7 separate regions of the Homo sapiens genome follow, and regions 1, 2, 3, 5, 6 and 7 are each linked to region 4. Evidence: promoter capture Hi-C in 16 types of primary human blood cells and fetal thymus (Javierre and others, 2016). All regions are on one chromosome and are shown on one strand. Each heading gives the region's core, a stretch centred on a gene start or on the middle of the fragment in contact. The rest is flanking DNA. Distances are from core to core; before and after follow the strand shown. Region 1 has its middle 28 kb from the start of TPRG1-AS1. Region 2 has its middle 11 kb from the start of TPRG1-AS1. Region 3 has its middle 34 kb from the start of TPRG1-AS1. Region 4 holds the start of BCL6 (BCL6 transcription repressor). Region 5 has its middle 42 kb from the start of TPRG1. Region 6 overlaps LPP (LIM domain containing preferred translocation partner in lipoma). Region 7 holds the start of TBCCD1 (TBCC domain containing 1).

Region 1 (4,163 bases), core at 112-2,611, 1.2 Mb before region 4:
TGTGTTAGGGAAAACGGAGGCTTTAACTCAAAGACTTTCTACAAACACTAAGTTTATGTCAAGGTTAGTGTCACAGAACAGACTAATTGGTATCAGATGCTATCATGCTGTCCTGGAAGTATGAAGAGTGAACGGGTACCTAATGGATGGGATGAAAGGATGGAGAAAAAGCTTGTGAGCATGTTATGAAAGGCTTCAGTGAAGAGTGGAGATGTCTTCCTTGAAGTGTTGACATCTGCATTAATCAAGGTGTCTCTTCAATTAACTAAGTGACGAGTGGCTGGGTGCAGTGAGGTATAAAGAGAGTGCTGTGGGCAGAAGGAACCACATTAGCAAGAGCATGGAGACAATGAAGAGCATGGTGTGAAGGAGAACAAAAGAACATACGAATGATGAATGAATGAGTAAATAAATGCTGTGAAATAAATAGGTAACATTGAGGGGCACTGATGGCATTTGAGCAGAAAAGTGACATAGTCAGACAAATGAACATGGCAACATCATGCTGCAGGGCTCGGTAGTATCAGAAGACAGATAAGCCTGTGACTTCTCTTATTTTTCCTATATGGTCAAATTTAACAAGTTTTATCATAAATTTTTTGATGTGCATCTTCCCCCGTGAGAACAGGTTCAAATTCTCTTTTTGTCTTGTTCACTTCTATATTTCCAGCACCTGCTAGATATCTAGTATACAGGAACCATCCAATCAACACGTATGTTGAATGAATGAGCACATGGATGAATAAATGTATAGAGCTTAAGGAAGCCTAGGACAATGACAGCGAGGACAGAAACAGATGTACCAATGCAAGTCTTCATGCAGTATTAAAATCAACATCATTTGGCAACTGCTTTAGATTTGGGGATGCAGGGTTGGGGCAAAGGTGACAGATTTTGGGATTAAGCTTGTTTGGGTGGGGCTGGAAGGTAGCACTCACAAGAGCAAGAGTGGGACCAGGTTCAGAAGGAGTTGAGGTTGGCTTTGGTCCTGTCAGGTTTGGGTTGCGATGGCAATCTTGTTTAAAATGTCCAGAAAAACTGGGAATGCAGAAACTGGGGCTCAAACGAGAAGTTAAAGCTAAAAAGAGAGGTTTGACTGCTCCCTCTAAAGAAGTATCAGTTAAAGCTGTGGGCAAGGATGGACTTGTCCAAGAGGGAGGGCGGCGAAGAGAAAGCAAACAAAGATAGTGCCTCAGGGAGGAAGGCAAGATGAGCTGAAGTCTGAAGTTTGAGAACCAAGTCTTGATCTCCTGATCCAGTTATCTGATCTCTTATGCATTCAGCTGTCCCAGAAAACACCACAGATCCTTGTTCTGCCTAGGGAGATGAGTCCTTTAAATGCATGCTGCATTTTAGCCACTAACTACAATCACCAATTCTTGCATCAACCACTAACAGTGGCTCAGAGATTGCCACTTGAGGCTGCACATTGCAAACTTATTTTCCCCTCTGATGCTATTTAGTTTCTGATGGTGTTATTAAAATAAAAGGCTATTTTTTAATGAGCTGGGAGAGAATCCACTTAACCGAATTGTTCGTAAAAGGAATAAAACACGTCAAGACTCTGCTTAGCGCCAATCCACCAATATAGGATCCTGCCTTTGCAAGAACCTTCTTATGTAAATATTTACAAGGAGAGTAAAAAAAGAAAGCGGTTTGGGGAGCCACCAGATGGAATAATACAAGAACAAACTTGAACACAGTCAAAATGGGCTTCACCAACAACAGGCGTCCTCTTAGGAATCTACCATTGCCTGGGGGGGTGAGAAAGGAAGAACAGAGAGTTAAAAGGAAAAGCGGCTTCTGGCAAAGCTTCTCTTGGGACTTATTTCAGCTAATCTCTGAAAACTAGGTTTTCGTTTCTATTAAAATCTTCAAAAACAATTTATAATAAACCCTCTAATAGTATTTATGAGTTAATTCATTATCCGTCACTTTTGCCTCTCTAACCAAGCTCTACTGTTGTCTCCCAAAGATTTTCAAAGATGCTGCTTTGGTGCTCATGGGTGGTTAAGCAGGAGTGAAGCTCTCTCCAGGGTTCTCTTCCCCAAGTCCCAGGCTGGCCCCTTTGCATTTGACTTCTGAGGCAGAAGAGTCTGTTCACGCTGCCGCACATGAGCCTATTATGCATTGTTTCCATTTCTCCGTCTACCTTGAGTAGCCTAATTACAAAGCAAGGAGCAATAACTGATATATCTATTATATGATGTTCTTGCAGCTGCTCTTTACCCTCCCCTCCCATCTCTCTGGGTCCCCTATGTAACCATTTTCTGACTCAGAGCACATTTGAAGCAAACTTGGCTCACAATGCATTTTGCAAATAAACCACAAAATAACATGATTGTAAAAAATGTTAACTGCAAAAGTAATAAATAAGAAACTAAATAAGTACGTAACCACAGAGCCTTGTCTGGCTCCTCGGCTCGCTGACCACAGCAGCTCTCTGTTGTCCGTCCTCACTACGGGACAGAGTGAGAACGCTAAGAAAAGGGGAAGACACACCATCCTCGCCCAGGGGTCTCATAGATGGAAGTTACACATAGATAGATTGTTCTCTCATTGTAAGACAGAAAGTTTTATGTCAGAGCTCCCCAATCTAGACAAGCATTGTCAGAGAAGAGGAGAAGCAGGCTGTTTGTCACCATGGTTTCATGTTCACCTATTGCTTTTGTGAGCACCTAACAGGGGTCTGGCTCTGTGCCTGGAGGCATACACATAGCATCTCATGTCACTCCTTAGCAACCCTCAGATGTGGGTATGATTAGTCCCAGTGCACAGAGGAAGAAACGGAAGTCCACCAAGAATCGAATAGCAGTTAGACCACAATATTTCACAGATGCTGCAAAGACTTTATACAGATGAGAGTGGAAAGAGGAGAGTGCAGCAGAAATACGCTGTGATGTCCTTCTCCCCCACCACCACTTCCAAGCCTGGCTGTTGAGATGTGCCCAGTGTCAAAAGAATTGGGGATTAAAACACCAAAGCCTAAATATCAGACTTGCCAATTATTTTACTTATATTTACTTTGAAACCCTGCCAGTCTAAAGACCGTCTTCACCAGAAGACTTCTGTGGCTGGGAAAAATCTCTCAAGGCAATGACCAGTGTAGTCCAGTCGAAAATGAAATGGGAAATTGAAAGCTAGGCCTGAAGCTGAATAATACAGTGCAAAATTTTCAATTCAGGGTCAGTACACAGTAATATTTTATGCCTCAGGACAGGGCTTAAGTATTAAGGACAGAAAAAGAGTCACTAATGTTTAATACATACAGAGACAGCAGCACGCTAGGCCCTATGGCCAGGACCCCTACATCACAGAACCGTGGAGGACCCTATTCACATTATCAGCTATGAATAGTGTCCCTCCTCCAGGGTCACACAACACACATGACCTGCAGAGCCCAAAACAGGCTTTTCTCAGGGAGATACCAAACACAAAACAAAAACCAGGGAAAACACAGTCTCAAGTCAATTACCAAGCAAGGGAAAGAGAAAGGTCCACATGCAAATGACAACTAGGGGAGGGGGTAGTTATAATTGCTCTGCATGAATTGAGAATGGAACCACTGCCCAGTTTACTAAGCATGCTCACATGCATTCATGCCTTTTTTTTCACAATAGCTCCACGAATAAGGGTTATTATTCTTATTTTCTGAATGGGAAAACAGGGGCTCAGAGAGGGGAAGGGACTTTTCTAAAATTTCCAACTTTTAGGTTGGAAGCCAAGACCCATATCCAAGTAGCCCCTGCCTCAGAGTTTCTCCCACTGCCCCCTCACTGGCACATTGGAAATGCAGAAGAAGAAGCATCAGCAGGAGCTCCGTGCGCCAGACTCCAGAGGGGAGTTGCAGAAAGCCTCAGTCAAGGAAGAAGCAAAAGAAACCTTAGGAGTGGAGGAGGCATAGACGCGATAAGCAGGAGTTTGGATGAGAGTGTATGACATAATGTGATCCACAGAACTTTGGAATTTATTAAAAGTCAAACCAAATTATTTCTTCTCTGATGAGCAGCATTCCAAATACTGAAGGTTTATGGTTTAAATACAAACTCCATTGTAACTCAATTAGGATGGAACTATTTCTAAAATCGATTATGCATTTGTCTATCTTCTAAGACAAAGCATAAAGAAAATAATTTAGCCTTTCACAAGGGGGCACACTGTAG
Region 2 (4,065 bases), core at 517-3,016, 1.2 Mb before region 4:
CGTGAGGCCGAGAACCCCACGTCAGAGAATACGAGGCTTGCCACCATCTTGGAAGCAGCCCGCCACCATCTTGGAAGCAGCCCGCCACCATCTTGGAAGCAGCCCACCACCATCTTGGGAGCTCTGGGAGCAAAGACCCCTGGTAACAGAAGCATGTTCCACATATCGTTGAGTTGTTGTCAAGATGTAGATGTTGTTCTTGCATACTGGAAAATCACCTCCTACTTCGAATATCTTCTTGATTCTCTCTCCTGCTGTGCCCTTCTAACCAGCACATGAAGCCTAAGTTCCCTTTCTCTTGACTCTCTCCTACCCCACACTGCAAGTAATCAAATCGGAGTTCTCCCTGACCATGATGAAGTTTGTGTCCCCATTAAGGAAATAATAAACATGGGGAAAATATCCCACATAGAGCTAGAAAAGAATTCTCCTAAAAGTAGAAACTTTAGCTTTGACTGATAGAAAAGGTATACCCCTGAATGTTTCCAAACTTAAGTCACAAGGAAGCCCAGCCAAGTACCAGACTGGTGTGAAATAATTTCCCCAGGTGAAGAGTACCACACTATTAGTCGACCGTGCAATTGAAGAAGAGAACGTTGCTTTTCACCAGTCATCTAGGGTCTGGAATGGGAAGGCACGAGGCCAGTGTGATGTAGACATACTCAGCTCTCAAAGAATTTTTCCTTGAAAGAGAAAAACAAAGGCAGGATGAGAACTCAATCAGCTGCTTCCTTCGGGAGACTGGGTGTAGCAGGACGGGCCCCTCACAAATATGCCAAGAATGAAGCTTTTAAATTACCACCACCAAGAATACTGGGTCAGAAGTTCCTAGAATTACTTCCTACTTGGATCAAAGAAGCATAGAGGTACAACAAGGTCTGACATCAGATGTGAAGTGATTTTGAACCCTGACCCACACTCCGATCCCCTTGGAGAACATAACTACTCCTGGAGGTGGAAGCGGATCCTGCCTTAATGGATAAAAACTGAGACAAGTCTTTTGTTCTTTTTAATACCCCAAAGGGTTGAGCTTAAGCCTTTCTGTAGGAGCAAAGACATCACCGTAAGGCAAACAGTGCTAGTACAGAACCATAAAACCCTTCTCAGCATCTAAAGGATACCCATTATGTTCATCTCAAAGTCAGAGTTATTTACTTTGCCTTTTACGTTGACATTCTTTTCTCTACTATGATAGTTAGCAAAATTGAATGAGAAAAGGCCCAAGTTCAAAATCCGCTCTGCTGCTTACAGGCCTTCTTGGTTTCAATAGTCAAACCCAGTGATGATTCTTGCCTGAGCAATCTCAGGTTGTTATGAGGAGTAGAGAATATGTAAATATGGGAAAGGGCTTTGTGACTATTCAGCTCTCCACATGTAAGCGGTTGTAATCATTCACTGACTAAACCTATCAGGTGGATTTTCTTCAACCTCAGTTGCTGCTTCATTCTCCCTTAGGGTCATGAAGTATCAGCAAGAGGCTGTTACTAGTTTTCTTGGGCTGCCTCCTGTCTGTCTCAGTCTGTATCTACAATGGAACCGACAATGAATCATATCTGTGGAGCACCAGGCAACTCAGCACTCCAGTCTGTTAAAGTGTCTTGCACTGCTTATATTACAGCAAATAAAACAGGAAAGGAAAATATATTTATTCCCATCATTAATAATCCATCATGCCTAGTCAAATTGGTCATAGTAAACTGGAACAATCACTCTTGCCTACAACAGTCTCAATATAAGGGAGTTCATTGTGCTAGCTGGGAACTTGGGACCAGATCATCCTGGATCTCAGTGGGCCACTTTCTGGCTGAGTGACCCCACAAAGGTCACTTAATTCCTCATAATTTCCTTATAGATATAATCTTGGTTAATAATAACAACCTATGTAAAGAGTGAGCATATTAAGTTAAATGAGGAAATAATGATAAAAGTGTTACATAGTAAGTCCGCAAGCACATTTGGGTTCCCTTCTTCCTTGCAGGTGAAGGGAAAATAAATAATAATAATGATAGCTGGCTGGGCAAGGTAGCTCACACTTGTAATCCCAGTACTTGGAGAGGCTAAGGAGGGAGGATTGCTTGAGCACAGGAATTTGAGACTAGCCTGGGCAATATGGCAAAACCCTAGCTCTACAAAAATGCAAAAATTAGCTGAGTACGGCAGCATGCACCTGTAGTCCTAGCTACTCAGGAGGCTGCAGTGGGAGAATAGCTTAAGTCTGGGAAGTTGAGGCTGCAGTGAGCTGTGATTGTGCACTGCACTCCAGCCTGGGTGACAGAGCAAGACCCTGTCTCAAAAAAAAAAAAAAAAAGTAAATAATGATAGGTAATACTTACATAGCATCTATGATACAGCAGGCACTGTTCTGAGAGTTCTACTTATTAATATATTAGCTCACCTAGTCTTTGCAACTCTGAGATAGAATGCTGTTTTCATCTAACCTTTACAGGTGGGTAAGCTAAAGCTCAGTGAGATTATATACTTACCTGGGGTCACATAGCTCACAGGGACAGAACCAGGATTTAACTCAGGTGCTCTGACACTACAGTGCTGTGCTAACCTACCATGCTACAACGCTGCCCATGATTATGGATATTAATCCACAGGCTTCTTTCAACTTTATATTCTGAGAGCTGAAACATAGGCTTTTTACCCCTAATTAATATGGCATGTCTTCCTAGACAATATATATTCTAATTACATTTTTAATATCTGTCATTTGTAATGATTCAGCTTCTGATAAGCTTGTTAACTGAATGTCATTTTTTTCTCCACCTAAACTACCTTTGGAAAGTTCACACACATCATGCAGTTATTTATGATTTGAGGAAGAGCATCATATATGTAAACTAAAAAATGTTTATTAAAGTTAGAATTAATAATGATTGATTTGATTTCACTGATGAGTTAATTGGGGAAATGAACAGGTAATTGGGTATTTACAAAAGAAGGTCAAGAATGGTTTGTGGGAGTAGTCAGTCAGATCCATTTCCTAAGCTTTTGCTCAGCCTTTCCTTCCTAAAACCCAGCCTGCTGGGGAGCAGGAAAAGAAAGCAAGGCACCGTACATTTGCTTACGACTGACACACTTTTCTCACAAAAGCTGTGCTCTGATCTGATCTACTCTGACACCTCCAAAGGCACTTTTGTCTACAGAATAAAACCAAACCTCATCTGTTTCTCAAGGGTCCTCCGCACTCGTCTGGCTCCAGACCGCTTGTTCATGACTGTCTTCCAATAAGCTTCAGACCCTTGCCATTCCCCCAAAAAGATTTTTCCCCCCAAAATCTCTAAGCTCTCCATTGCTCCAACAGGCCCTTCCCTCTCTAATTCTGCCAAAGTTCTAGTAAGTTTTCAAGACTGTTTCTGGGGTGTCCAATCTTTTGGCTTCCTTGGGCCACATTAGAGGAAGAATTGTCTTGGGCCACACATAAAGTACATTAACACTAACAGTAGCTGATGAGCTTGAAAAAAAAATCACCGGCTGGGTGTGGGGGCTCACGCCTGTAATTCCAGCACTTCGGGAGGCTGAGGCAGGTGGATCGCCTGAGGTCAGAGTTCGAGACCAGCCTGGCCAACATGGTGAAACCCCGTCTCTACTAAAAATACAAAAATTAGCTGGGCGTGGTGGCAGGTGCCTGTAATCCCAGCTACTTGGGAGGCTAAGGCAGGAGAATCGCTTGAACTCAGGAGGCAGAGGTTGCAGTGAGCTGAGATCATGCCATTGTACTCCAGCCTGGCGCAACAAGAGCGAGACTTTGTCTTAAAAAAAAAAATCACCAAAAAATCTCATAATGTGTTAAGAAAGTTTATAAATTTGTGTTGGGCCAAATTCAAAGCTATTCTGGGCTGCATGAGGCCCACGGGCCATGGATTATACAAGCTTGGACTGTACCTTCTCTACTTGTATGTCCCACATACCCTCAGTTCAGAATTAGCTTTTTCTTTCTTCCATTTCCAATGGCACAAAATAATACTTCTATTTTAGAACTGATCCCTCATTATGTTGCACTGAATTTTGTATGTGTGTCTACTTGTTCCACCAGAGTGAGCCCCTAAATAGTAGGGT
Region 3 (3,873 bases), core at 464-2,963, 1.2 Mb before region 4:
CTGCATGCTCTGAGCTGGACTATGCCTTTGTCACATGGCTAGTGAAATCTGCCAAATGGGTAATGGGTAAGCACCACAAAGCTAAATGAATTTGATGCCAGACTTGTATGAGTGAAACAGAAAGTTTAACCAACTCTTTGAGGTTGACACATCTTCATATTTGCAGGGAAAGCAGAGCTATGAGTTTCTTGGCAAGATTCAGTCAGATTGAAATCATTCTAAGCACATGATATGAGAACTATTGACAGGAATTCACATGGATACTTACACAGCCATTATTTCCTAATTCTATTACCTAAAAATGTTTAATGCTCCTATGTTATAGTTGGTTACATGACTTTCCCAGGAAGGGATCGTGGAATCTACATGTAAAAACCAAGAGTATCAGAGATCATCTAGGTTTTACATGAAAAGATGTAGTCCAACTGGTTTAGAGAAATTAACAATGGAACTTATTTTATAAAGTCTTATGTGAAGTAACCCTCTGAGTAACATAAGTAAATGTGGAGCTGCTCTGCTGCATGTGAGTGGAAGACTAGACACTTGCAGTTGAGGAACCTAAGACAACCCAATACAGAAGTGACTCATTTAGGGTCATACAATGACAGACTGAAACCGAGGCCTTTTCTTACTTAGCAAGGAAAACATGAAGAAGCTGACAAAAATGAAAAATGAGAGGAAATGCCTAATCTTCAGACTCTCTGGAAACACTGCTCTCCAACTCTGAGAATGCATCACACGCTTCATGATTATGGTCCCCAGCTCTAGGACATCTGCTTTAGGACAAAGTGCAAGGAAATTGAGCTTTAATTGTCAGCTTTGAAATGGTGACTTAGTCAGACTGATAAGAACAGGACAAGGGAAGAACCCTTCTCATAGGAAAGAAAGCAGCAAATTTCCATAATACCAACGACAATCAACAAATATCCTAGCCTGTTCTCTAACTGTGGTCACAATGCCTTGCATTTGCATTGTTCTATAGTTTCCAAAGAACTTTTTACGTACACAGTTTAGTTTAATCTTTACAACTATCTTCATTTTGCAGGAGAAGAAACTGAGGCTTGGAGAAGCTAAGAATGTGGCTGTGCCCAATTAGTTCTTGTTTGATAATTAATTTAGGTGTTATGTAGTAAACAGAAAGAAAGATGTTAGAAATATTTTTTTGTTTGTTTTGAGAAAGGCTGTCACTCTGTCACCCAGGCTATAGTGCAGTGGAGGGACCATGGCTTACTGCAGCCTCAAACTCCTGTGCCCAAGCAATCCTCCTGCCTCAGCCTCCCAAGTAGCTGAGGCTACAGATACATGCCACCACACCCAGCTAATATTCTTATTTTTTGTAGAGATGGGGTCACGCTGTGTTGCCCAGGCTTGTCTTGAACTCTTGACCTCAAGTGACCCTCCTGCCTCAGCCTCCCAAAGTGCTAGGATTACAGGCATGAACCACCATGTCCAGCCTAGAAATCTTTCTACATATATCCAGGGATTTCTCTGGACACATTGGAGGAATGAACTGGCATATAAACCTTCCCAGTATATGAGAGATATTACCTTGACATATTTAGTAAGATTTCTATCTTCCCTTCTATCTCCCACATATCACTCAAAACAGTTATCAAGCCAAAACCACCATAAAAATGTACGCTATATATGATAATATATTAAATATTATATAATATATCTATATTAGAGATGTATATAAATATAAATTAATGTGAAAATATGTACATGTATGAAAATATTAATGTAAAAAAGTATGAAAATTTTACAGTTCAGATAAAAAAGTTCTTTTTTTCCAATTTTATTTTGGATTCAGAGGGTATATGTGCAGGTTTGTTACATGGATATATTTTGTGATGGTGGGGTTTGGCTTACAGATGATCCCATCGCCCAGGTCATCAGCATAATACCCAATAGGTTTTTCAGCCCATGCCCCTCTCCCTCCCTACCTGTTTAGTAGTCCACAGTGCCTATTGTTCCCATCTTTATGTCCATGTGTACTCAATATTCAGCTCCTGCTTATAAATGAGAATACGTGCTATTTGGTTTTCTGTTTATGCATTAATTTGCTTACATAATGGCTTCCAGCTGCATCGACATTGCTGCAGAGGACATGATTTCATTCTTTTTCATGGCTGCATAGTATTCCATGCTATATAGGTATCACATTTTCTTTATCCAATCCACTGTTGATGGGCACCTAATGCAAATCAAGACCACAATGAGATACCATCTCACACTAGTCAGAATGGTAAATAGTTCTCAAATGAAAATAATGTCTTACAGTTTCAGACAAAATAATCAACATATTTATGGTGTTTATGTGTCAGTATTAGAAATTTTTATAATATTCCATAACATTTGGTGACTATTATATGCTAGGTACTATACTAAAGATTTTGTAAATATTAATAATAATTATAACAACAAATCCCATGTTTTCTATATACCAGTTGATATGGTTTGGATCTGTGTCCCCACGCAAATCTCATGTTCAATTCTCATCCCCAATTTTGGAGGTGGGGCCTGGTGGGAGGTGATTGGGTTACGGGGATGGATCCTTCAAGAATGGCTAGCATCATCCCTTTGGTGCTGTTCTAATGATGACAGAGTTCTCATGAGATCTGGTTATTTTAAAGTGTGCAGCACCTCCCCCCCCTCTCTCCCTCCTGCCCCCACCATGTGAGACACCTGCTTTCCCTTCACCTTCCTACCATGACTGTAAGTTTCCTGAGGCCTCCTCAGAAGCAGAAGACACTATGCTTCCTGCCTAACATGCAGAACCGTGAGCCAATTGAACCTCTTTTCTTTACAAATTACTCAGTCTCAGGAATTTCTTTATAGCAGTGCAAGAACAGACTAATACACCAGTTTAGCCTGGCAGTAAATGTGGGGCTATGATTTTAGTCCCTAAACAATCTTGTACACCTACAATCCCCATAAAGTCCTTTACAACTAGTTCTGAGAAGCCTGAGGTGACTTACGTGTGCATCATTTGGGATATTTCATTTCGTTCTTACGAGTTCTTTCTTTTGACTCTGGACTGAGGCAAAACCTTCTATGCTACCATCCGAAATTCCACTGCATATGAGCTATTAAACATGCAGACATCACTCATAGTTGCACACTCAAAGCATCAGAGCTACTTCGTGCAGCCCTTCTTTACATTTGGATAGAATGATGTTCTATGGACCCCAAATTGGAGCTGCCTGGTGCTCCTAAGTAGTCAATGAAATCTTGGTTTCAGACTTTTTGTAAGCATCCATTTTCCTGAGCTTTGGCATGAGTTAAGGCAGCAGGCAGTTCAGAAGTCAATGGGTACAACACTCTGAGAATGAATAGACACTCTCTCTTTTCAAATGCCCCATTTTTTGTGGACCTTTATTACAGGCCTTCACTCTTTCTTTTTCCTTAGAAACCTTCCTTTCTAGCAGGTTGTTTGGCCACCACTGCAATAATCACCTGCTGACCTATCACCATAGATCTTCTAGTCCTCTTCAGACAGATCCCCATCCTAGGATAAACTCAATCTAGCTTTTGAATCAACACTCCCACATCATAGATATCCACTTCTCTCTTTGGGGTGGTGGGGAGCGGGGGGAGAGAGAGAGAGAGAGAGAGAGGGAATTCACAGGTAATAAAATATTAAACTGTTCCATAAAGGCAAGTGAAGAATACAAATGAGGTATTAACTGACTATGGGGCAAATATTTAGGCTCTGAGGTCAAGTTTGCTTTCTCTCTGATCTTGGAAAGTACAAGAAGTATGGGCTGCTCCACATGCCTGAAACAGGTATCAGGCTGTACTGCATTCTCCCAGGTATGAATGCCACTGATGTAGAATCCATTTCCGTAATTCAAATGCTCAGGCCAAAGT
Region 4 (4,097 bases), core at 888-3,387:
TTTAACGCATATTTCCTAAGCTCCAGCCCTTGTGGAAAATAATCAACCTCTTTGCACCTTTCTGGGTTTTAAAACCTAAAATACAGCCTTTAAAAATGTGTGTGTGTTGTGGGGTAGGGGGGTGCATTGCCAACAACATTTTCGGTGATAGATGGAACTTCTTACGGGACTGTCAATGAAAGAGATTTTCCAAATATCCCAGCAAACAGCAATCTTTCACAGCTCTGATCACTCCTCCATTATAAACCCAAATTTTGGGTTGAGATAGGTAGATTATTTTAGACATATCTTTATTAGAAATTAACAAGTGACGAGATTTTGTGGAAGCTTTAAGAATTCATCTGTAATTTAATAAGTCGCTTGAAGGACTCTCATAGCCAAGGCTCAGAACAGCCTGACCTTTGAAAGCTGCTTCTGGTCCAAACATTTTGGGCTAATTCTTGAGGAATCTGAAATATTATTTTCCCCTCACACCCTTCTTTTAAGAGAGAGACATAAAAGAAACAAGAGTCTCCCTTATTCAGGGATGAGTAGGAGGGGAAAAAACCCGAACCAACATTTAAATAAGGAAACTAGCAGCTCTGAACAAACAAACTAGGACCCACAATGAAATGATTCTGCACTGCAATTGCCTTTAAAAAGAAAGTAATAGAGAAAAAGAGAAGGAAAGAATTTCTCCTTCTTCTCTACCCCCCCCCCACCCCACCCCCCAACTCAGCTTCAAAGCTAAGAAGACTGTGCTGCGTGTAGTGCATTGTAGTTGTGGCAGTCTGTTCTAAATACAGGCAGTATCTGTGATACTGGCACGGCAGGCCTTTAGAATTCCCTCCGGCTGATCTCTTAAACACAGACTGAAGAGATTTTTTTACAACGACCTTGAAACGAGCCTCGAAAACAAAAATCTCAAGACCTTAAGAGAAAACAAAACACAAACAGGTATTTGGCTCACAGAATTTTGTAGAAAACACACACATACCACCCCGCCACCCCCACCCTCCCCCCCACACACACGTTTCTTGCAACAAGAAATTTCCCAAGAGTCAACAATAACAGATTAAACCCACCACTTGCTGTCCTGGAAAGAAACAAACCAAACCAAAACAAATCCTTTGAACATTTCTCTGAAGTGCAGGAGAGACACACTTCAGCAAAAGTCCAAGGGGGAAAAAGAAAATTGCACCAAAGGAAAAAAAAAAAAAAAAAGTGGGGGCTGGGATTGTTACATATGGCCAAAAATTTAAGCTTCTTTCAATAGTATTAGTATTGAAATAATACATCTTTAAAACGCTTGAGGGATTAGATAGGGAAAGAAAAGGCACGTACAAAAAAATCCAACCGATGCCGATCCTGTGATTTACGTAACACCACAAACTTGCAAAAGGCAAAAAATCAGAAGCAAAAATCCATAAACCATCAAAATACAGAAACCAAAAATCCCAAGCCACCACACCAGAAAGAAAAAAACCCAGAACAACAGCAAAAACCCCTGTCCTAAATAAAAATAAAGCAAATGAACCCACCGAAAACTGCTTGGCAAATATTTTTCTCGTGGTGCCTAATATTCTAGTTGGAAAGAGCTGTGATGTTTATTTTATTTTATTTTTCTCTTACTCGCCTCTCTAACCCTACTATATATATAACATACTTTTCCCAGTGGTTCAAACCTCTCGCTCCCTTTTGTGCATTTAGCTCGATCTGCTGAGTTTATGGGTAAGAAAGAAGGAATTAGCCCCAGACCCCGGGAAAGCAAAGCGCACTCCCCCTCTTATGTCACCGAATAGCAAATTAGTTCTCAGAATTCCAGAGGCCGAGCTTTGCTACAGCGAAGGCGCCGACGTCACAGAGGAGGAGCCCACGTGATGGTGGCGGAGCAGGCCATACCATCGTCTTGGGCCCGGGGAGGGAGAGCCACCTTCAGGCCCCTCGAGCCTCGAACCGGAACCTCCAAATCCGAGACGCTCTGCTTATGAGGACCTCGAAATATGCCGGCCAGTGAAAAAATCTTGTGGCTTTGAGGGCTTTTGGTTGGCCAGGGGCAGTAAAAATCTCGGAGAGCTGACACCAAGTCCTCCCCTGCCACGTAGCAGTGGTAAAGTCCGAAGCTCAAATTCCGAGAATTGAGCTCTGTTGATTCTTAGAACTGGGGTTCTTAGAAGTGGTGATGCAAGAAGTTTCTAGGAAAGGCCGGACACCAGGTGATTATTGCTGTTGCTGCCGCCGCTGCTGCTGCTACTGCCGCCGCCGCCGCTGTTGCCGCTGGTGCCGCTGCCGCCGCCGCTGCTCATGATCATTATTTTACCTTTTAATTCTTTTTTTTTCCGCTCTTGCCAAATGCTTTGGCTCCAAGTTTTCTATGTGTATCTATTGATATAAATGTATATATTTATTTATTCTAGCTGTCAGGTGTTAAAATAAATGCCGAAGATTAGTCCCACGTCTCTCCCACCATAGGATATAGATTGTTATGTATTTATTATTATTATTGTTGTCTTTGAGTGAATCGGCCGGTTTGGGGAGGCTTTTGCCACCCTCCCTTGTGTTGTTTTGGTTTTTGGAAAGGAGGTGGAGGAGAGGAAGGAGGGGAATTAGGGGGCGGCCGGAGCAGAGAGGACGAGACAGTGCTTGGGGGGTGATTCGGGCTAGTCTGGGGGCTGTCTGGCCCCAGACCGCGGAGAGGACGCGCGCTCGCGCTCTCGCTCTTTCTGCTGCTGCTTGCGTACGGCTTGTGATCTCTCTGGATTCGTGCGGCTGTGTTTTTTCCCTCTTTTCTCGCTTGCAAACTGCTTTCCTTGCTCCGTCGCTCCTGGCCTCCGCTTCCCTCCCTCCTCTTTTTCCTCGCCTCTTCTTCCTTCCCTTCCCCTGTCCTTCTGGGTAACTCCGGGAGGCAAAAAGGGAGGCTGCCCGCTCGCTCGCCCCGCTGGCTCTCTTCCATCGGCCTCGGTCTTTTAGATTCCCTGCCTTCGAGCCGAACCGAGATTTGGAAGGAAAAAATGCAAGCGAACTCTTTGGGTTTTTGTTTTTGTTTTTTTGGTCATAAATCCAGATGAGATGAAGTATCGTGTCTACTATTTCCTTTCAGAGCCGTGATCTTCCTAATGAGAGCCGAGTGTTTTGGTGTTCCCTGCCCCTGTGTTTTGGGGAGCTTGGGGGCGGGGATGTTGAACACTTTGAAAATTATTCTTTCTTGGTTGTAGTCGAGGGAGTCGGGAACCTCCGCGCGCTCTCCCTGCTCATCCCGAGGAGAGAGACTGATGGCGGGACAGGGCTTCTTGGGGTGGGTGGGAAAGGGGTGCGCACTGCACCTGCGATGCCTTTCAGTGTGCGGGGGGACTCAGGGAACCTCGACAGGACAGCCTGGGAGAACGAGAAAGGTGGCGGGATTTCTGGCCGCTGCGGTGTTTGTATTTTGGGCGCTGCGTGACTCTGTGTTGGCTCCCAATGGCTGTTGCCTCCCTTTCCTAAATTTTATTTTATTTTTTCCCATGGTGCAAGCTCTGTAAAAAGGGAACTGCGGGCCTGAGCGTAGTGGACGCCAGGCTTCAGATTCCCGAGGTCCTTACCTTGGGCGAGGAGAAAGACGAACAGAGCCCCAGCCCGCGTTCCTTATGTGCAAGACTCAGGAGGAGAGAAGGGCACTTTGTGGCCGTGGCTGAGGGGACCCGGCGCGGGAGGAGCGGGCGCGGGCGCGAAAGGGAGATCTTTGTGAGTGATTTTGCAAAAATAGATTGCGAGGTTGGTTGGATTTGCAACCTGTGGCTCTCCTCGAGGGAGTAAGAATGGGGGAAGGCGCGGCGGCGGCGGCCCGGGGAGGGAGTGGGTAGAGTTGGAGCCTCAGAAATCGGCTGAGCTCCGGGGGCGGGCGGGGAGAAAGGGCGGGGGGGCAGCAGGAGCTAGGGGCCACCCCGCTGCCGGATGTAGTGACCGTGGTAAATGTCTTGAGAACTGTGGGTTGCGTTGCCTTTATGATGCCGTGTTATTGGAACCCTGGCGAAAAATGGAACTAGTGTTGCAATAATGAGTTTTAAAGCTCCCCCATGGAAAACAAAAACACAACCAAACCGATTTTTTAAAAAAATGAAAAAAGACCCTCTGTGTTG
Region 5 (3,939 bases), core at 1,020-3,519, 1.4 Mb before region 4:
AAGTCCTACTGCATTTGTGAGAAGAATTATTATTATGTTATCAACTGCTATCTACATGGTCTTGTTTCCTTCAAGATGGAGATTTTATATTCTCAAATTATTGTAATTTTGCCTTTTAGTGAGCTTTTTTCTAGACAACTATATATATATAAACACACATATAGATACACGTATATACACGTATACATATACACACATGAATATTTATATATAATTCCAACATTAGAATGTATCATATTTACATAATATCTTAAATGATATTGCCTTTTTGTAATGTATAGAAGTAACTCATTAGGGATTTCTTTAGCACCAATTTAAACACTGAAGCCCAAGTTGGAATCTCCCTGAGCCCTCCCATCAGTGAAATTACTACATAATCGCTGCTCCGATTTAAAACATTTTTTAGAGTAAAAGGTAAGATTATTACTAATTATGCTGCCAAAAAGGATAAATCTGAACTGTTCTGGGCAAAGTGGGACATACGATCACGTTACTTAGAGTTGTGCAGAATTTTAGGTATTTTACCGGCCAGAGGTAACATGGCATGAGGTAAAAAGTACACATCTCATAATCAGAAGTTTTGGATCCTAGCTCAAGATCCACCATTGTTAGCAAAAATCACATATGGCCCTGAACCTCACTTTCCTCTTCTCTAAAACGCAGGTCATTCCCTGCATCTCAAACTCAGGTTATGACCTGCATTTGAGGAAGAATGTAAATGAAAGCCTGTTATAGCTGGAATATATAGCTCTACTGTTGGATTTTTTAAATAGTACTTTCAAATGGATTTTTTTAACAGACATTGGTACTCTTCACATCACATTATGAGTGTGTCCTAAGCAGTTCATATTCTGCCAGAATATATAAATGGTTGCTTGATAGTAGAGCCCTCACACTCACAGAAGGGAATCTACATTTGCCTCTAGTTTCATCCTATTACAGTCCATGTCAAGGGACTATTGGTGTTCTCTTTCATGCTGTTGTTCAGTTTTATTAACTACTGGTTAAAATAATCTGCTACGTTTTGACCATGCCAGGCCATTTTCCTCTGATAACATTTGAGTTACTGAGATTATACCTGTAAGGTCCATTTTAGGCCAGTTAAGAAAGCACTGAGAATAGAAGTTTAATTTTTTCAGGTACTACATGTAAGTTAATTCACCATTTCCTTAATGAGGAGCAATGTTTGAATTCTCTGAAGCCTCATAATCTCTCCCAGGCAGAAAGGAATCATGGATCCTAAAGACAGTCAAAATAGTTATTGTCTAGTTGAGTTCTTCTTTCTATAAATTATGAGAAAGATCTCATGGTGCTTATAACCCAACATACTCGGTACTATGCATGTGCCTAGAACCCATGGCACATGATGTATGTGCCAAGATCTGTACATACATCATGATCATCTGGTTGAGGATATTCTATATTACTCAGAGCTGAGCTTGCCATGAGTGCTTGATAACTGCATTACAATTCACTTATCATTGCCATAGTCATCAACATAATCATTTATCAGTTCAACATTCAGCTGAGAAGTTTTATTATCCCTCTTATGAAGAGTACCTTAAGTATTATCTTTGATTTATCAGCCTCCATGAGATTTTTTGTGCATTTCTCTTTCCTTCACAATGCCTAACACAAGGCCCTGTATAGAAGTAAATGTTTGATCAATGTTAGTAAAATAAGTAAAATTATTTTCATACTCCTTCCACTGTGCACATGAAACAATCATAACTTTACCATAGCTCAAAATCCTATACTTTTTTCTTCATCTGTGCTTTAGTGAAAAAAGCAATAGTCTTGGACTTAAAATAACTGAGCTTAAATAAGGAGTGAAGCGACAACTCTTTCCAACAGAGAGTTTCAGTTAATAAATATAGAGAAAATGAGGAAAATAGAAAATGACCATTACAACATCATAATAACAATGGCAACAAGCAAGATCCACCACAAGAGGCTAAAATTAGTTAATGAGGGAAAGTTTAAGTATAAACAGCATATTTTTATAGTCTCAAGTGTCACTTCTCAAAATATTTAGTAATAACAAAGGGGGAAACAGCAAATTTACAGTGGAAAAATCCAGCAGATGCCATCTTAACCAAGTGATCAGGGTTAATGTCACCAATAATATATATCAACATAATATACCTGGTATCACAGCCTGAGAAGGACGCATCCCTGCTGTGGTATCTTTTGCAATACCTTCAGTATAGTCCCAAGAAAAGATCAGAAAAACCAAAATTGAAGGACATTCTACAAAATAACTCATCAGTACTCTTCAAAAGTGTCACAATCATGAAAGAAAAGGAAAAACTGTGAGAAACTGTCACAGATGGCAGGAGACCTGACAACTAAGGCAACGTGGGACTCTGAATTGGAGCCTAGGAATAAGAAAGGACATTTGTGAAAAAATTGATGAAATATGTATAAAGTCCATACTTTAGTGAATAGTACTAAAGTTAATTTCTTAGTTTTTAATCATTGTTCCACGGGTAGATAAGATGTTAACATTAGGAGAAGTTGCTGCTGCTGTTGTTTTTGTTTTTGTTTTTCCTGAGTCTAAAATTATCTCAAAATAAGAAGTTTAAAAGATAACTGAGTTGGGCCGGGTGCGGCAGCTCACGCCTGTAATCCCAGCTACTCAGGAGGCTGAGGCAGAAGAATCGCTTGAACCCGGGAGGTGGAAGTTGCAGTGAGCCGAGATTGCGCCCTTGCACTCCAGCCTGGACAACAAGAGCGAAACTCTGTCTCAAAAAATAATGCTAATAATAAAATAACTGAGTTGAAGAGCCAACACTGACACCTACCAGTGGCATGTCCTTAGGTAAGTTACCTAAGCTCTCTCAGCCTAATCTTTCATTATCACTAAAATTAGAGAAATAGTACCAACATTTTGTTGATATGAGGTCAAAATGAGATAAGGAACATGAGGGCACTTCGAAAATTATAAACCCTTATAAAAATATCTTTATTACTTCTTAACTCTTTGACCTTTTCATCTCATTCAACTACAGTTGCCAGATAAAATATAGGACTCCAGTTAAATTTGAATTTCAGATAAACAACTTTTTTAGTATAAATATGTTTCATGTTATGGTTGAGACATACTTAAAACAATTTTTTTCTTTAGATGCCCTGTATTTTTATTTCCTAAATCTGATAAACCTACCTTGACCTGACTTCCAATACTCTGTCCCTTTCTTGAAGGTGTCTTCTTCCCTCCTCCAGGCCGTCTTTGCACAATACTGACAGCTCTGGTACAATGATTCCATGCAAGGGCCATGGCGGCCCATGCTCCAGGAGAGCTGCACAAAGGTTCATCTATCACAAGACTCTAGCAAAACGAATTCATTAAGAGTACACGACAAACAGGAATTTTCCCTTTCTGACTCATCTTGCAATTGTGCAAAATTTATTTTAAAATTTTTAAGTTATTTTTACTTCTCACTCCCCACAAAAGCCCAATGATAAAAATACTGTGCAGATTTTTTAAGCTGTGAGGAAAGATCAAAATCAGCAACAACCTATAAGATGGTCCTGGTAGACTAAAGTAGGAGCCCACCTCTTGGGACCTGTAGTGAGGTTTTGGGGAAAGAATGAAAGAGAAGAGGAGGAAGACTTTGAACACAACATTTTTACATATACCAGCTAAGCATATAGGGAATTATGCTTAACTTCACTTTCCTAGTGAGAAACTGAGTCTGAGGGAAGACAACTTAGACTCTACCTCACAAAGGCCATTGATTTCATACTTCTTTCTCTTCCATAACATCTGGACCTCAAGGTTCTACCCAGAGGCCATCTCTTTTGTGAGTTTACCTCCTTTATTCTCCAAATCAAGTATGGTTTGTTTTTCTCTGAATCTCCACATTGCTATAAAAAGACCTTAAGACCTTTACCTGGGAGTATAGCCACATGTTATTCACATTGTATTGATATCTC
Region 6 (4,141 bases), core at 584-3,083, 1.0 Mb before region 4:
ATTTCCTCAACCTCCTTACACTTCTAGTATGCAGCTTATTGGACATATAAAAGTTCAGAAGAAATTAAAGTTCTGATACATCCATCTGAGGGCTTGAGGACTGTGCTGAACTCGAATCAATATTGAACAAGGGTCTTTGGTAAAGCTTAACTGAATTCTGATAAGAATTAAATTACATTTTAGAGTCACCACGAATAGATCTCATTAAAGAAAAACCTTGATTAAATGTTCTTATGAGGGAAAGAAGTAAAAAAAAAAAAATGGTTAGAATTTCCATTATTTGAATTCACCCAGTTCTTCCAAGTACGCGATTAAATATCTCCCGGATAGTTTTCCTTCTCATAAGCATAGTATAGTAACAACAAACCAAAGAAGAAGGGGCTGGCATCCTACAGAATCACAGAGACCCATACTATGCCTGGAATGGAGATAGAAACTTGAGCCCACACACTGTAGAAACCTATTATTTAATCAGATTAGACCTTCTCCAGTTTTGTTACGCACTCAGAAAAGCAAGCAAACATGTAAAAATGCGAGGAGTATGTCTGAAAGGTTATAATAATTTCCTAAAGCCCAGTGAATTTCACTGCACATGTAAGGTTCCCACATTCAGAAATATTAAACAGTTTCAGAAACATCATTAAAGTTAATCCCAGAATAACATTTATTCCACTACTTTTCCTGAAGAGGCCCAGTGTGCTTTACTAGGATTGTCTCATTTCTTCTTCATGGAAAATAACTGCCATCGTCCCCATTATATAGATGAGGCAACTGATACTTAGAAAGAGTAAATAATTTTCCCAAGGAGGGGAGGCACTAAGTGACGTAACGAAATTCAAATTCATGTTCTTCCCACCCTGTTACACTGTTTCCCAATACTGTCTATATGATTTCAAGCTAACAAGGGTTGAAACAAAACAACTGAAGAAGGCTGCTGCCACAGTAGCATCATTAAAGTAGCAAAAATCAACTATGGAGTCAAAAAGGGATAAAAAATAGACAGGAGCTATAAAAAAACACAGCAGTATGTGTTTACTTGGTGTAAGGACAACCCTGGGTGCCTCTACACACTCTGCCAACATCACTACCTTAGGGCTCGTGGCAATAAATAATTTCATAAACGTGGTGCCAAGCCATTGTGAATGACACCCGGTTTAGTCTGTTTAAAAAGGCAAGGAATTATGTAATGCCTTTCTTTTTTCAATAAAGATTTCAAAGATATTTGAAATATTCTTATATTCTAAAGAGGTAAGCTTTTGTTTACTAGACTTTCGCTTATGCATAATTGCTCCTTCCAGATCAACAGTACATTACTTTGTTTATCTTTATGTTTAGGAAAATGAAAACCATGTAGCATCTGCAAAGAATCTAAGACTGTGGAGCGTGAATAACGGAATGCAGCCTTGGTTCTGACACTAATGATAGGTCATACGAAGTCGCTTTCCTCTTCTGTATGTCTTGGCATTCTCATTGCTAAAGAGAGTAATTACGCAAATGATTTTAAGATTTTTTTTCCAACTCTACCACTGTATGGCTCTACATGTGTTTAAGCTACCTTTGGAAAGAAATGATGTTACATGTATTAAGTTACCTTTGGAAAGAAAACGAAATAAAATTGAACCTAAGACAGATGCAAAGCCATATTTAATCCTACGAAGCCTTAATCTTGATGAACTTTCAGATCTGTGCTACAGACCCCAAGGTTACAATGGGTTAGAGCTGCCAAGTTATAGGAAAATACCAACCAGGCCAAAAACGTCTTCAATAAATGTGAACCTTGTAAAGCCAAGTATGACTCCCAATACCTTGGTAAAGAAACCAAGGTGTCTTTTATGTTGAAATCTCTGGGCACTGAGGGACAAACCATGACTGTTTTGTGGGTTTACATAACAAACAAACAAAAAACACTACTTTTCCCATCAACATGTGTTAAACAAAGATTAAAATCATGCTGAAGGATAGCAAAGAAATTTACAATAGATGAAAAAAGTCTGTGTTCATTCATCAAATTACTCTACCAGAGAATAGTTTAACAGGTAGATTAAGTAAGTAGCATTGTAAAACGCTAAGGTAACATGACTGAGAATTTTTTAGTTACCCAGGTATATTATTAAAATATAGTTTTTGTGTTCTGTAATAAAAGAAAACAATGATTAGCTCAGTCAGCATTACTGTTCATTTCTCTTTAAGGTGCTTTATAATAAACAGTTCCCCTGTTTGCATCATTAAAAACCTGTTGGATAAGAGGGGGAAGAAACATTTTGGTAGATAAAAATGGACTCAAAGGGCCCAGTATTCTGGAAGAGGACTGACAAGTCCAGAGATTCTGTAAAGTTTCCTTGAAACTACTGGGCACTTCAAATGTAGGGTGAGATCTTATAAGAGGTGTGACTCAGCTACTTGGAAAGCTTTCTGATGCTTTAAGAAAGAAAATTTTAGCTTGTACATACATGCTAGAAAGCCACAGGCTGATGATCTTCCCAGCAGACCACTAACTGAATGGCAGTCCCATGCTAATACACCTTTCTGACTGCTTATGAATGGGGGATGTGTAGAAAAAAATTACAATATGCTAATTTACATGCGCGCACGCACACACACACACACACACACACACACCCCACACACACATTTTGAAGTCTAGGAAGAAGCAAAGATCTGATGGCTATATTCTATCTAGAGTGACTGGCATTCAGCCACAGAAGACATCTTTGCAAAGTGCTTGAGGAACAAATCTGGAACTTACAATGTAGCAGGGCTCGCAGTATGCTTTCTTTTCCACAGCATAGAATGGCTGCCCTCGGAGCTTGTTGTTGCAGATGATGCAGGTAAAACAATCCACGTGGAAGACCTGATCCATGGCAGTGCATCCTGTACCTTCCCCAACTACGTTTTCTCCACAGCGAGCACAGCGGCCTGGAAAAAAAAGGGTTTGATAAGAACACACCAAGGAGTACTTCAGTCCTGCTAAAGCCAAAGTGGAGGAGAAAGCAGGTTCATAACGTCAGCAGCAATAGAACCACCACTCCTGCCGTCATTACCCCAGTACTATTACCCCATTACCCCAGCAAGATCACCAGTACAGCCACCCCTATCCTCTGCAAGATTGGCATGGAGGGGATTTTACATTAATCGGTTGAGGGGATTGAGTCTCATAGTCTAAGTTCTTGCAGAAAGGAACAGTAGAACCCGGTCGCTGGCTTTGAGGTCAGTGCTCTGACTCTCATCTCACATGCAAGTATAAAAGGAACATGACTCAGGATGTTTGGAGTGGAAGGCAAAATCTATAAAACAGTACAGAAGAGTCTTTCTTCTTGGAGATTCTACACATCCAGTTAGAATGTAAGATAATTGGGTCCAAACTCAAATTTTAGTTCCTTTTACAAAAGCCCTGATTGTAAAACCTCTGCAGCCAGCTCTCAGTGACAGGCAGATCCCAAGGCAGTCCTTTAATTTCTAGATCGCTTTGATGGCTAAAAGGTTCTTTCTCCTACTGAGCCATAGTGCTTCCTCATTCTAACTGCTTACCCCATGGTTCTAGTTCTGTCTTCTGAGACCTTATCTCTCTCTTGGACTTGACATCCTTTAATACATCAAAATTCAGTAAGCATTGCTTCCAAGTCTGTTATTCCTTTGAACATCCACACATCCTGCAATAGTTTCATATACTGTAGGGTTTTGAGTCTTTCAGGGCCACGGTTCTCGTTGTTCATGCAGTATTCTGCGAAGCTCCAGCATTCTTAAATTGATTAATGTGGCATCTGGCCTACATATGGACATCAGGTTTCAGTTTTTAAAATTTGCAGTAAGCTTTAAATAATAACAATAAAATATAAATTCAGACAAATAGTTATGTCAGTGAGAGGCATTATGCTGGTTGCCATCCATATCTCTATGTGGCTCCATCATGGGAATCTTGAGCTAGACGTCACGTCCACATCTAGTTTCCCTTCTTAGTCTTTGTTTCTACTAAGTTAAAAAAAATTCTATCTAATAATTATAGAACACTGGGAATGTTAGCCAGAAGCTGTAGGCTTTGATAGATAAGGTATAGCAAATGTAGTGCTTCACATATGTCAGACTTTTTCTAGGGGCTTTAGATATATTAACTCATTTCATATTCACAACAGTCTATATGCAG
Region 7 (4,087 bases), core at 362-2,861, 1.2 Mb after region 4:
ACTCTTACACCACCCTGTTTTCTTTTCTTTATTTCTTTTTTTTTCCTGAGACAGAGTCTCGCTCTGTCGCCCAGGCTGGAGAGCAGTAGCGTGATCTTGGCTCACTGCAACCTCCGCCTCCTGGGTTCAAGCGATTCTCCTGCCTCAGCCTCCCGAGTAGCTGGGACTACAGGCGCACACCACCATGTCCGTCTAATTTTTTTGTATTTTTAGTAGAGACTGGGTTTAACCATGTTGGCCAGGCTGGTCTCGAACTCCTGACCTCAAGTGATCCACCCGCCTCAGCCTCCCAAACTGCTGGGATTATAGGCATGAGCCACCACGCCCGGCCTCCTATTTTTTTCATCCCTGGTCCCTAGACTTACACACTGAAATGCCAGTTTCATGAGAGCATGAATCTATATTGTTCTGTTCACAGCTGTATAAAAGAGCACCTTAGAACAGTGCCTGGCATGGAGTAGGTGCTGAAGTACTTTTGAGTCAAAGTTACTGGGATGGTGATCATTGTATGGCTGGCTTCTTACTCTTCAGGCCTCAGCTCAAATTTGGCACCACAAAGTGGCCTTCCCTGACCCCCCGCCCCAATTTTCATAGCATTTTTCACTATTTGAAATTATCTTATTTTATTCCTTAATATGTATTGTCTATTCTCCCTGTTATACACTCCAAGAAAGCAAGGACCTTGTCTGTTTTGTTCACTTCTGTCATTCTAGTGCGTACCACTGTGCCAGACACACAGTGGTACTCAACAAGTAACAGCAGGGTCACTGAGCTAATAAGTGGTGCAGCCTGGATCCTAACCCAGGTATGTGTAAATTTGAAGCCCCTGCTTTCAGGAAGATACCCAGTAGGGACAATGGCCACACAAAAGAGGAACTAAATTGCATTTTACGGTCTAATTTACCTTTGTATCTATCACACCTAGAGAGGCCATAAAGGAACTAAAAAAAGCAGGAAATGTCCAGAAATTCTGAAATGGAAGTTTAAAGGAAGGAGTGATGGCTTCTGCCCGGTAATCTGAAAAAGCTTCATGAAGGTGGAAACACGGCAGGAAAGCTAACAGAGTTAAGGAGCTGACACCGAGGGGCGGCAGGGAGTGCCAGTCTTGCTTCAGACGCCCTGGGCTTGAATCTTGGCTCCATCTCTTGTGTGACCTTAGGGTTGTGTTATTTTCACCTTTCTAGGCCCTAGTTTCTTCATCAGTAAAACGAATGTACTTAAAGGGCTCTTGACAAGACTTAGGAAATACACATAAAGTTGCTTTACACAGTGCTGAGACCATAGTAAGTGCTCTATAAATGCAAACTGCCATTAGTATTAGTAGCATTTCTGATGAAAGCGTGCTGATCTTACCAGCAGCTATTAGCTGACCACAGTTATGCGGAGCAACAGAAAGCTTCCTACCCCCCCGGGTTGAAAGGCGCGACACCAGAAAGCGGTGGGTCTGGCTCCAGGTGCCACTGTTGCGGACTCTCGACCCCAGCCTAGATTTTCTCAGACGCTTGAGCCGCAATCTGCCGCTCTAGCAACGGGGTCCGCCAGGTCTCGGTGGTGCGGGGCCTCGCGCTTGCGCAGTGGGCACGGCAGCGGCGCGCGGAGGAGGGTGAGGGGCGGGCCCAGCGAGCGGACGCCGGGCGCGGCGGCGCGCGGAGAAGTGCGGCGGAGCGGCGCCTGCATTAGCAGGTAACCGCGCACTGGGTGCGCCGGGGAGGGCGGTGTGGGTTAGTCAGGCTTCAGGCTTGGGTCGAGGAGGCTGCCTTCGCGCTTACCGCGTCTCGGGTCAGCTACCGACCCTGTCAGCGTGAGCGTCTGTGTTCCTGAAGTCCGGTCGCGACGCTGGGGCGGCCCACGCAGAGTCCCACCCCGGATCGCGTCCAAGGTGGCGGCGAAGCCCCAGGACAGCCGCCTTGGACCCACGCCGATCTCCCGACCTGAAAAACCTTAACCTCAGGGCACCGCCAGGGTCAGAGCCCCAGTTTATGTTTGTTTACGGATTGAGCCCTCTCGATTCTCGGAGTTAGAATGGAGGGCTCATCTCTGGGATCTGGCTGTTGACAGGGGCTCAGTACCTCACAGAGCAGCCTCTTTACATTTTGGAGAGAACCGAGGTCTTCCTCGCCTAACTTTTATCGTCTGGTTTTACTCAAAACGACTCCAGTCTCTCCACATTGGAAGACAGCTGCCTTTTGCCCTTCCACGCCCTTCTTTTGAGTTTACTCTCCCTGGTTCTTTCACCTGGCTTCCTGTCTAAGACTCTTTATTCTGGAAATTCTCTTCTGGATCCACTCCCGTTTTTAAGAGATTCTCCCAAAACTGGATTCCTAGAGTACATTTATAGTAATGCAGTTCTCAAGTCAGACCTGAATCCTAATCTAGAGCTGTGCCAGCTAAGTAGGTGTCCTTAGGGAAATCCCTTAACTTCGCTAAGCCTCATTTTTTTTTCATCGAAAATGTGTACAGTCTTAAGTACTGTATCTCCAGGTGGTTGTGAGGATGAAAGGAGGTGAAGTATGCAAAATCATGAGCATGATACCTGGTACATAGTAAGCACTCGATTGATGTCAGTTATTTTTCCGAACAGATGATTCTCGAGAGAGGCACAGTTGGCAGGCCGGGTGCGGTGGGTCACGCCTGTAATCCCAGCACTTTGGAAGGCCAAGGCAGGCGGATCACCTGAGGTCAGGGAGTTCAAGACCAGCCTGGCCAACATGGTGAAACCCTGTCTGTACTAAAAAAATACAAAAATTAGCCTGGCGTGGTGGCGGGAGCCTGTAATCCCAGCTACTTGAGAGGCTGAGGCAGGAGAATCGTTTGAACCTGGGAGGTGGAGGTTGCAATGAGCCGAGATCGAGCTATTGCACTCCAGCCTGGGCAACAGAGCGAGACTCCGTCTCAAAAAAAAAAAAAAGAGAGAAGCACAGTTTTCTTAGAATCAAATGCAAAATATAATAATAGCAATAAAATTTTCATCAGTCATATAATTGATTTTTTAAATTAGTTTTTATATTTTTAAAAAAATGATGTTGCTAATGTTGAGGAGTGCACAGTGAAGTAGGTACCAGAGTCAAAGGATGGTACAATTTGATAAAATCATTTGGAAGCAACAAGGATATATTTCACAAGCTTTAGAAATGTCAATTACTTAATTTCACAAAAGTACATCTGAAAATTTTCACACAGAAATAATTCGTAATGCAGAAAATATGAAGAAAGATGGTAGTGATAGCATTATTTACACTTGTGACAACATTTGAACTTTTGTAATGAAATTTTTTAACATACACAAAAATAGAATCAGTGAGCCCCCCACGTACCCATTACCCCACTTCAATAATGATCAGTATTTTGCCTATGTTGTTTTTGTGAAAAATCTGAAACCTAGTAAGGTGTCTAAAAATGGGAGAAGAGTTGAATAAAATGGGATACATTTATTTAGAATACTATAAAGCTTTTGAAACAGTACAGAATTGTGTATGTAACATCACAACTGTGAAAATTCAAAAACTAACATCTAATTTATGTGTAGAAAAAAGACAAAGAGGCCAGGCATAGTGGCTCAAGCCTGTAATCCTAGCACTTTGGGAAGCTGAGGCGAGGGATCACTTGAGGTCAGGAATTTGAGATCAGCCTGGCCAACATAGTTAAACCCCATCTCTACTAAAAATACAAAAATTAGCCAGGTGTGGTGGTGGACGCCTGTAGTCCCAGCTACTGGGGAGGCTGAGGCATGAGAATCGCTTGAACCTGGGAGGTGGAGGTTGCAGTGAGCTGAGATCATGCCACTGCACTCTAGCCTGGGCAACAGAGGGAAACTCCATCTCAAAAAAAAAAAAAAAAAAAGAAGAAGAAGAAGGAAATACAATAAAATATTAATTTGTTGCCCTTTACTTGTGGGATTGTGGATGGTTCCCTGTTTTTGTATTTTATAAATATTCCATAAAAATCATGTATCATTGTTACAACAAAAAAAAATCTAAAAAATCACACCTGAACTGAGCAGGATCAAATATGCTAGAGTGGGTTCACTGTTATAGAGAATAAAGATGCTGTAACTTCTCCTGATCTATTCTTGCAGTCTACATTTACA

The links. Contacts are between HindIII fragments. The CHiCAGO score rates a contact against its expected background, and 5 or more counts as called.
Region 1: a contact is called between a fragment that was not itself captured here and the fragment with the promoter of BCL6 in region 4, in 2 of 17 cell types (erythroblasts and naive CD8 T cells). The highest score is 7.3, in erythroblasts.
Region 2: a fragment that was not itself captured here is called in contact with the fragment with the promoter of BCL6 in region 4 in 5 of 17 cell types (endothelial precursors, megakaryocytes, total B cells and 2 more); the score reaches 12.2 in endothelial precursors.
Region 3: a fragment that was not itself captured here is called in contact with the fragment with the promoter of BCL6 in region 4 in 1 of 17 cell types (naive CD4 T cells); the score reaches 6.7 in naive CD4 T cells.
Region 5: a contact is called between a fragment that was not itself captured here and the fragment with the promoter of BCL6 in region 4, in 6 of 17 cell types (naive CD8 T cells, naive CD4 T cells, total CD8 T cells and 3 more). The highest score is 16.8, in naive CD8 T cells.
Region 6: a fragment that was not itself captured here is called in contact with the fragment with the promoter of BCL6 in region 4 in 3 of 17 cell types (naive CD4 T cells, total CD4 T cells and naive B cells); the score reaches 9.3 in naive CD4 T cells.
Region 7: the fragment with the promoter of TBCCD1 here is called in contact with the fragment with the promoter of BCL6 in region 4 in 2 of 17 cell types (total CD8 T cells and naive CD8 T cells); the score reaches 6.1 in total CD8 T cells.

What each region holds. Positions count from the first base shown.
Region 1 is chr3:188,973,646-188,977,808 of GRCh38, reverse strand. No RefSeq gene overlaps it. Among named protein-coding and RNA genes, the nearest start is that of TPRG1-AS1, 28 kb to the right of the region's middle. The HindIII fragment of the contact is 907 bases long and covers 908-1,814 here.
Region 2 is chr3:188,934,263-188,938,327 of GRCh38, reverse strand. No RefSeq gene overlaps it. Among named protein-coding and RNA genes, the nearest start is that of TPRG1-AS1, 11 kb to the left of the region's middle. RefSeq lists enhancers at 1-330, 450-951. The HindIII fragment of the contact is 1,954 bases long and covers 790-2,743 here.
Region 3 is chr3:188,911,536-188,915,408 of GRCh38, reverse strand. No RefSeq gene overlaps it. Among named protein-coding and RNA genes, the nearest start is that of TPRG1-AS1, 34 kb to the left of the region's middle. RefSeq lists a silencer at 635-929. The HindIII fragment of the contact is 9,743 bases long and covers 1-3,873 here.
Region 4 is chr3:187,743,508-187,747,604 of GRCh38, reverse strand. It overlaps BCL6 (BCL6 transcription repressor), which reads left to right and starts at 2,137. Exons shown (of 10, transcript NM_001706.5): 1 at 2,137-2,195. It overlaps BCL6-AS1 (BCL6 antisense RNA 1), which reads right to left and starts at 3,936. Exons shown (of 2, transcript NR_173091.1): 1 at 3,561-3,936; 2 at 1,579-2,361. RefSeq lists an enhancer at 2,499-3,024. The HindIII fragment of the contact is 3,720 bases long and covers 1,245-4,097 here.
Region 5 is chr3:189,127,596-189,131,534 of GRCh38, reverse strand. It overlaps a transcript of TPRG1 not described here. Among named protein-coding and RNA genes, the nearest start is that of TPRG1, 42 kb to the left of the region's middle. RefSeq lists an enhancer at 2,321-3,520. The HindIII fragment of the contact is 5,198 bases long and covers 1-3,939 here.
Region 6 is chr3:188,758,888-188,763,028 of GRCh38, reverse strand. It overlaps LPP (LIM domain containing preferred translocation partner in lipoma), which reads right to left. Exons shown (of 12, transcript NM_001375462.1): 9 at 2,747-2,916. Among named protein-coding and RNA genes, the nearest start is that of MIR28, 72 kb to the right of the region's middle. The HindIII fragment of the contact is 1,155 bases long and covers 1,256-2,410 here.
Region 7 is chr3:186,564,863-186,568,949 of GRCh38, reverse strand. TBCCD1 (TBCC domain containing 1) reads left to right here and starts at 1,611. Exons shown (of 8, transcript NM_018138.5): 1 at 1,611-1,683. RefSeq lists a silencer at 1,418-1,707. The HindIII fragment of the contact is 1,727 bases long and covers 1,399-3,125 here.